Regions from separate parts of the Homo sapiens genome. Here region 2 is linked to region 1. Evidence: promoter capture Hi-C in human tissues and cell types (Jung and others, 2019). All regions are on one chromosome and are shown on one strand. Each heading gives the region's core, a stretch centred on a gene start or on the middle of the fragment in contact. The rest is flanking DNA. Distances are from core to core; before and after follow the strand shown. Region 1 holds the start of COL1A2 (collagen type I alpha 2 chain). Region 2 has its middle 120 kb from the start of BET1.

Region 1 (4,276 bases), core at 1,742-4,241:
CCAGGGCATTCAGTTCAGGTTCTGGGTCAGCTCTCACAGCTCTACCAGTCCCACCCCCATCCCCAGGAAAAACTGCTCCTTATTTGGAGTCACAAAAATATTTAACAGAGATCTAACTGACCACTAAAAATTCCTCCTTTAAAACAAACACCTAATCAACTATTTTCCCCCAAGTTATATGGAAAAACAGCTGCAATTAGAACTTGATTCTCACTTTAAGAAAGAAAGATTCTTGTTTGGTTTTCTCCACTTTCATTTTTTGTTTCTAGGTCCAGGGCCTCCCACCAAATGCTGACGGCTGCCTGCTTCAAACCCTGCCACATCAGCAGGGAGGGAGCACAGCGGCATTTGGTATTTGCATCAGTTTCCAGGAATGCTTTTCAAGTTATCAGTTCACTCTGCTGCCTTTAGCAGAGACGTTTTCCCTCTAAGTTTATAGATGTCTGCTTCAATTTACAGTCCTCTAATTCTCAAAAACTTGCTGAGGATTTTTCTTTTTTGGCTAAAAGAGAAATTATAATCACACTTCTAAAAACATTCTATGTTTTAAACTATTTTGACAACAACAACAAAACCTACAATGAAATGTTTAAAACTTGGGATATCTATTGCAAATCCAATGATTGAGCCAACTTGACCCCAGAAGCGTTATCAGATAACCTCACTGAAGGGTATTTGGAGGGTTTCTTTCATAAATCTGTTGCATTACCACCCTGAGTCATTTTGCTCAGAATTAGTCTCTGACTCTCAGCAACACAGGACAAATACACACATATGCCCTGCAAAGGTAATTCAGCACAGTGGTAACAATGATTCTTAGAAATCATTTCTCACTCTTCTGATATGCAGAAAAAAATTTGTTATGATGTAGTATTGAAGTTTTTCTTTCCTGATAAAAATGATTTCCACTTTAAAAGTTTTTTGTTAGTTCTGTAACGGTGATATTTCAGGGAAATGTTAAAAATGTTCTTGGAATATACAATTCAACCTCAGGTCTTTTGTTGTTGTTGTTCCTAGAACCTAGAAAACTTCAAACATTGTTGCCTAGTTAGAAAAAAATTTGAATGTGGATTGCTCCCTGTAAACCCCCTTCTAGGAATGACCAGTAACCCTTTCAAATTCTTTCACTCCCAGTTACTTCAAAAAATCATCCAAAGTGGTCTCCCAAGTGAGTGCCTTTAATTAGAATAAAACAAGAGTTTATTATAGTTTTTGGTTATCCACTTTTACTTGCATTAACCTTTTTTTCTTCTTTTACATTTAGAAAGAGTAACCTGCTTTAGAATAGTCCCTTTTATTTACAGAAGCTGCTGATGGAGTTAACTTCTGCAGAAATTCTTCCTTAAGGCAAAGCAAAAAAAGCGGGGAGGGGGTGGGGGGAAGGAAGGGAAAAAGATTCTCAGGGAACTACAGCCCACTTGCTTCTGTTTCTTAGAGACAGAACTGACCTAAAGATGCCCCCTTTGCGATGACTTCTGGGATAGAGCAGCACTCTAACTAGGCCCCCGCTGCCTCATGGGGACCTTAGGCAAGTAGAGGAGAGGCCTGACACACACACACACACACACACACACACGCACACGCGCGCGCGCGCACACACACACACACAGCCTTTCAAACCTAGGGCCTGGAATGCCATCCCAAGAGGCTTTAGAAAAAGGCACAGGACCTTTGGCCTCCCACCTCAGGGTCAAAGTACCAGTTCCTCCTCTCCCTAGTAGGGAGTGGAGGGTTGGATGGAGGCGGCCAGAGAAGAGGGAAGTTGGGTGCTGGGGAGAGAGTTAACATCCACGTTGGTGGGCGCACTGCTTGGGGTGTTACCAGCGAAGACTACGAAGACCCCAAGCTCGAATCAGAAGGGCCTCTGGATGTGCTAGGGGAGGTGCTTGGGTGTGGCTGTAAGAGATGGGACAGAGAGTAAGCAGCAAGGTCAAGAGGGACCGGGGGGCTCACGGGAGGGTTGAAGGGTCCAGGCTCAGGGTAGAACTGGTAAATCCAGACAAGGAGCCCATGGAGAAGGGGAGGGGAGACTGGAAACCATGAAAGATCCCCCACCGCAGCCTCAGAAAGGAGAGACTGAGAAATAAGTTCTCGGTCTCCAGGTCGGTTGGAGTCGTGTCGGAGTGCCAGACCATCCCCCAAAAGACCCTCTTTGGAATGAGCCTCAGCAAAGGCAAGCTAGGAGGTCGAAGGACTTCCCCAGGTGACTCGGTCTAGTCTAGAGTTCGCAAAGCCTATCCTCCCTGTAGCCGGGTGCCAAGCAGCCTCGAGCCTGCTCCCCAGCCCACCTGCCAACAAAAGGCGCCCTCCGACTGCAACCCAGCCCTCCACAGACAGGACCCGCCCTTTCCCGAAGTCATAAGACAAAGAGAGTGCATCACTGCTGAAACAGTGGGCGCACACGAGCCCCAAAGCTAGAGAAAAGCTGGACGGGGCTGGGGGCGGGGTGCAGGGGTGGAGGGGCGGGGAGGCGGGCTCCGGCTGCGCCACGCTATCGAGTCTTCCCTCCCTCCTTCTCTGCCCCCTCCGCTCCCGCTGGAGCCCTCCACCCTACAAGTGGCCTACAGGGCACAGGTGAGGCGGGACTGGACAGCTCCTGCTTTGATCGCCGGAGATCTGCAAATTCTGCCCATGTCGGGGCTGCAGAGCACTCCGACGTGTCCCATAGTGTTTCCAAACTTGGAAAGGGCGGGGGAGGGCGGGAGGATGCGGAGGGCGGAGGTATGCAGACAACGAGTCAGAGTTTCCCCTTGAAAGCCTCAAAAGTGTCCACGTCCTCAAAAAGAATGGAACCAATTTAAGAAGCCAGCCCCGTGGCCACGTCCCTTCCCCCATTCGCTCCCTCCTCTGCGCCCCCGCAGGCTCCTCCCAGCTGTGGCTGCCCGGGCCCCCAGCCCCAGCCCTCCCATTGGTGGAGGCCCTTTTGGAGGCACCCTAGGGCCAGGGAAACTTTTGCCGTATAAATAGGGCAGATCCGGGCTTTATTATTTTAGCACCACGGCAGCAGGAGGTTTCGGCTAAGTTGGAGGTACTGGCCACGACTGCATGCCCGCGCCCGCCAGGTGATACCTCCGCCGGTGACCCAGGGGCTCTGCGACACAAGGAGTCTGCATGTCTAAGTGCTAGACATGCTCAGCTTTGTGGATACGCGGACTTTGTTGCTGCTTGCAGTAACCTTATGCCTAGCAACATGCCAATGTAAGTGCCTTCAGCTTGTTTGGGGGAGACTGGGTAGAGAGGTTAGATGGGAGGGCACCCTGCCCTGAAAAGGAAAACCTGTAACCTGAATTCCAGGTACACTTGGAGGGCAGACTCTCAGGCATGTGGGAAAACGCCGGAATTGATAAGAAACATGGAAATTACTTTAAAAAATGAAAACATAAAAGCCTTGCCAAAAGTTAGGGAACTTTTCCTCTAAGTTCAGAGTGAGACAGTTAACTCGGTCTGGCTCCTCAGCTTAGTAACCCCCAAAGGGAGCGGAAGGTCTTTTTCCCTAAGGATGAGATATTAACGACCAATGTGGTGGAGGAAGTCAAGGGCCTGCACCCCACAGGCCCCATAACCGCACTGATGTCCACCTTGTAAAACTTGAGGCCTGCGTTAGAAAGCCCTTCAACTGAGTAATGTAAAACTCACCTCCTAAGAGCTTTTATCTTCTGGGCATTGTAAGGCTTGTCCGGAGGAGGAGGATGACGATGCTGATATGATGATGGTTATAAGGCGCCCTCTGGAGGAAGGAAAATGAAAGTACAGGGGACAGGGCCTTAAGCAGATGGAATCCCAATTAAAGCTTCTACGGATTTATACAGATTAATGATCAGCATTTCTGGTTGGAGCCTTTCCCAGTGGCTAGTCAGTGAACCCTGGAAAGAAGAATGGATGCTACTTGGAGTGGGTACATTCTGAAAAGTAATATAAGTGTCTCAATTCACTTTCTAGTCATGGAAATGGTAACATTTTTTAACTCAAATCTGCTCTAAATTTTGTTTGAGCCTGAGAATTACCCCTTTGACATGTTCCCAGTGATAAGCAAACATTATGAACGCAGCAAGTTGAGAAATATCAACATTGAGATGAGACTCAAGAGACCGGGGTTTTTCCCATGAGTCTGACACCAATTTGCTGCGTGACTTTGGGCAAGTCAAACGGCCTTTTCTAAAATGTGAGACAGAGATTAAAGGGACCCCAAGGCCACTTTCCAGCTCTAGGTTCCATGGCCAGACTTTCATGTCAACAGAGAATGAAGAAGATCAGTCCGTTTTCATCTTGAAAATGG
Region 2 (3,880 bases), core at 307-2,806, 270 kb before region 1:
GAAAGAAAAAGAAAAAGCAAGCAAGCAATAAAAACAACTTTTGTTGGTGTTGCAGCTCATACTGAGAGAAATTAATGAAGGAGCAGGAATTGGAAATAGACTATACATGGTTTTCTGTTTTCTCATCTCAGTGTCATCTATCACAGCCTCTGAAATTATTAACTCCTTTCTTTAACATCTTAAACACCTTTTATTTAAATCAAAAACTCTCTTTATTAGAAGAGCTGATTTATCCTGTTTAAAAAAAAACATATTTTAATCACTGTTGAAGAAACTGTAAATTGCCAGGGCAAATTACGAAGGGCAATTTGACAGTGTATATGGTTTTAAAATGTTAATGTTTTAATGCAATAATTTAACCCTCAGGAATTTTTCTAATTCGAATTTCTAAAGGAATAATCAAATATGCACAAAAACATTCACCGTAATGTGATTGTAATAGCAAAAAATAAGAAATAGCTAAATGAGTAATAACAAAGCATTAAAGAAATTATGGCAATTTTGTTTAATAGAATGTCATTTAGTCACAAAAGCACATGTTTAAAAATATTTAGTAACATGGGAGAAACACTACAAATATGTGAGGAAGCAAGTTATAAAAATATACCAAGATTGGGAAATATATTTAAATATAAACAGTTTTTATCTCTGAGTGTGAAACTACATCAAAATAACTTCTGTTTCTTTCTCTTCCAATTTATCCTAAGTGACCACGTGCTGCTATTATAAAACAAAATAAATATGTACTATATATAGTATTATAGAACTATAATACTATATTGAATAAATAAGTTAAATGTTGTTGAAACTGGCAATTTAAGTAATTCATAATCACTCCTTTTATCTGTTAAAATGTATGTTTCAATTCCTCTAAGCAATCTTCAAGAATGGAAAATTTTGATATACATTCAACCATATTTTGGAAATTCTCCAGCAGTGTTTGAGGTAAATATCCCACCTGGATATAGGGGATTTGGTTAATAGAAACTGGGCAAATTAATAGAGGATTTCACACCCTGAGAGAATTAAAGGATATTTAAAAGGCAACAAAAGCTACGTTTCTGCAAAACAAAGTCAAGTACCTTGTTCAAAAGGGCATTTACTCTAATTCATACCCAAGCCTTGGGATAGATTCACATTCTCATTCACTGCTCCCAGTATCTAGGGCACTTTCCAAACACCAGGGGTGCCATGGTGGTGTGTGTAATAATAGATAGCAAAACGAAGATGGAGCTCACTCCGGAAATTATGAGGGGAATTCAGCAAAATAAATAAAGGCTATGAAGGCAATGACCATAACCTATTAAATGCTGGTCACCTCCTGTTTTCTCCTCCTATCACTCCCCTGAGGTTCTTAACAAAGTACTTCCGACAACAGGTAATATTACATTCAGCCGTGTAACCAACTGCAGAATTTCTGATTAGCAGGGATCACAGTATGTTTTCATTTGCAAGAACCAATCCTTTAATCCTCAACACAGAAAATGAGGCACACACTATGACAGACCCAGATCAGAGTGACAACTTTTCTTGCTTATAAATAAATAGCAGGGAAATCTAGCTTGATTTCAAGAGATCGTGCTTTGAGGCTCAGTATTGCAGCTGGACCATGAAGGTGCTGAGAAGAACGAACTCTCAATTCTTTCCCCTGAGTGTTTCCCGGGTGAAATGTGTGGATTCCTGGGTTGCTCAAAGAGTGTATGAATGAAAGAGAAAGTATTGCCCATTGTTTGCTCCATCAGAACCATGGACTTGCCTCTCCCAGGACTGGGATTAATCACTGTGCCCCTTTATAAGAAGCATGCTTCAGGAAATGAGCAGAGCATGAAATGGAGTAGCTGGAAAATGGTCTAACCTCAAGGTACCAACAGATCAAATAAATATTCTCTGTCCCCAAACAAAAGGAACAATATTTTCCCTCATTCTTCCTCGGCCATTACCAGTCAGAAATCATGGGACTGGGGTTGGATTGCTTCGTGATCTGTCGAAAGAAACTAAAAATAAAATCATTCCACATTATGGGAACACTTGAGTTGCATTTTCATACAACTTTCCCAAATTGCAAGACTTCTGCCATGTAAGAAACACTTACTAATTTACCAAGGCCTCAGAGGCCTGGAATGCATAATGGCCCATTCAAACCAGAAGTCAACATTTAGATTGGTGGTTCAAGTAAGTGCCAACTCAGACTAGAAGGCATAATATCTTCCATCATAAAGGCCATAAAAAGTCATATACATTGCTCATAAATATGAGATGGACCAAGATTGACTCTGAGGTCTAAAAGCTATGATCTCTTGCAATTTGTTTTTCACTTTTAGTAAATAAAAATACAATGTATACTAGGTGAACAGAGTATACAGCCTCTAAAATGCCATCTTTATTTTTTTCAACATTGTCTTGGCATACTTTTATAGTTCGGTTTGAACATCATCCAGTGTACAGAAACTGAAATGGATTAAGGTCTGACAAATAGGAAGCTAGAGGGGGAATAAAAGAATCGCCCTGAACAAGAAAAATAATCAAAGACACAGAGGGTGGGAAAAGGATCTGTTTTCTATCTCCAGTGGAATCAGATAAAGAGAAAAGAGTTTAACTGGCAAAAGAAAAGTTTAATTTAGACATCTTGAAGATCCTCCTGTTCCGTCAGCTGCCGAGAATATCCAACTTTTAATAGGAGCTAAATGCTTTAGCTGCAACACAGGTATGAATTCCACCATCACAAATTCGTGTCAGCAGAAAATGTGATTTTCTTTATAGCCGTAATTGTCAGATCTCTGATCCGAGCTCCCAACCTACTTCAGGCAAGCAACTTAATAGTGTCATTTCTGATTATTTTTCATTCTAATGCAGTGATTTGTTGGTCAGTTCATACCTAGAGGGTCAGAAATCCTGTGGTTCAGTCTTCCTTTCAGGGTTTCTCTCTGTCTCCTGCCATGCAAAAGCCTACAGGGACAAGAGCAGATGAAGTATCTCACATACTCTGCACCTTTCCTTTGGTCCAAACAACACCTCTGCTCCTTCCTCCAGGTCCTGGCTTGGTCTTCAGCCTCCTAGAATTTCTCCCTATCCACCTACAGTCCTCCCGTGAGCTCTCCACCCCACAGCCCATCTACAATGTCCCCTGATCCAGAAAACAGCTGAAACACTGCTGAACTTTGAACATTCACTAACTTTTCTGAGTTCATGCCTTTTTTATTTCCAGCCATTTCCTACATCTAATATTTATTCAAACTCCATCCATTCCTCAAAGCCCCAAATACTTTCCTCTGATCCCTTTAATCAGAAGGAACTATTCTGAATTCACAGTCTATCTCTCTCCCACAGCCTTTGTCACTTTCTGTGGGTGCAAACATCTATCAGGCATATGCCTGTGCAGGTAGAATCCCTGTTGACTGCTGGCATCCATATCTTTAGTACTCTATTTGTCCCAGTTGCCTCTTGGCTTTATCCCACTGGTTGTTTTACATTTTTAATACCACCTCTGCCTTCTGCCCTCGGTTATAAGTTACATCCATGCCTATCTCTCCTACTGTAAACTCCTTGAAGAAAGGCAAGTGCTTCCATTTGGTAGCTTATTCAGTGCCCTGCACACAGTAGACAATCAAAAATGTTATTAAATGAAGCTTCTGGTAAAACTAGGCAAAGGCCACAGCATTTCCAATGGTATGAGAATGAAATAGACAGGTTGTATCTTCATCGTGGGCATAGAAATACAACTGACTTGCAAGCGTAACTCTGTTCTGTCTACTCCCTAATGCCCGCTCAAAGTCTCATAATTTTTAATTTGAAAAGAGAACCAGTGGGGTATTGTGGTTTTAATTTGTGGGGAAAAAGGAAAATAAAATTATTCAAATTTCGCTTTTCTGCCACTGACAGT

The links. Contacts are between HindIII fragments. The study calls those that stand out against the background at their distance.
Region 2: a fragment that was not itself captured here is called in contact with the fragment with the promoter of COL1A2 in region 1 in 1 of the 25 tissues and cell types used here (spleen).

Annotation. Positions count from the first base shown.
Region 1 is chr7:94,391,904-94,396,179 of GRCh38, forward strand. It overlaps COL1A2 (collagen type I alpha 2 chain), which reads left to right and starts at 2,992. Exons shown (of 52, transcript NM_000089.4): 1 at 2,992-3,198. The coding sequence starts at 3,129. It overlaps COL1A2-AS1 (COL1A2 antisense RNA 1), which reads right to left and starts at 289. Exons shown (of 6, transcript NR_147206.1): 1 at 215-289. The HindIII fragment of the contact is 19,147 bases long and covers 1-4,276 here.
Region 2 is chr7:94,118,892-94,122,771 of GRCh38, forward strand. No RefSeq gene overlaps it. Among named protein-coding and RNA genes, the nearest start is that of BET1, 120 kb to the left of the region's middle. The HindIII fragment of the contact is 8,090 bases long and covers 1-3,880 here.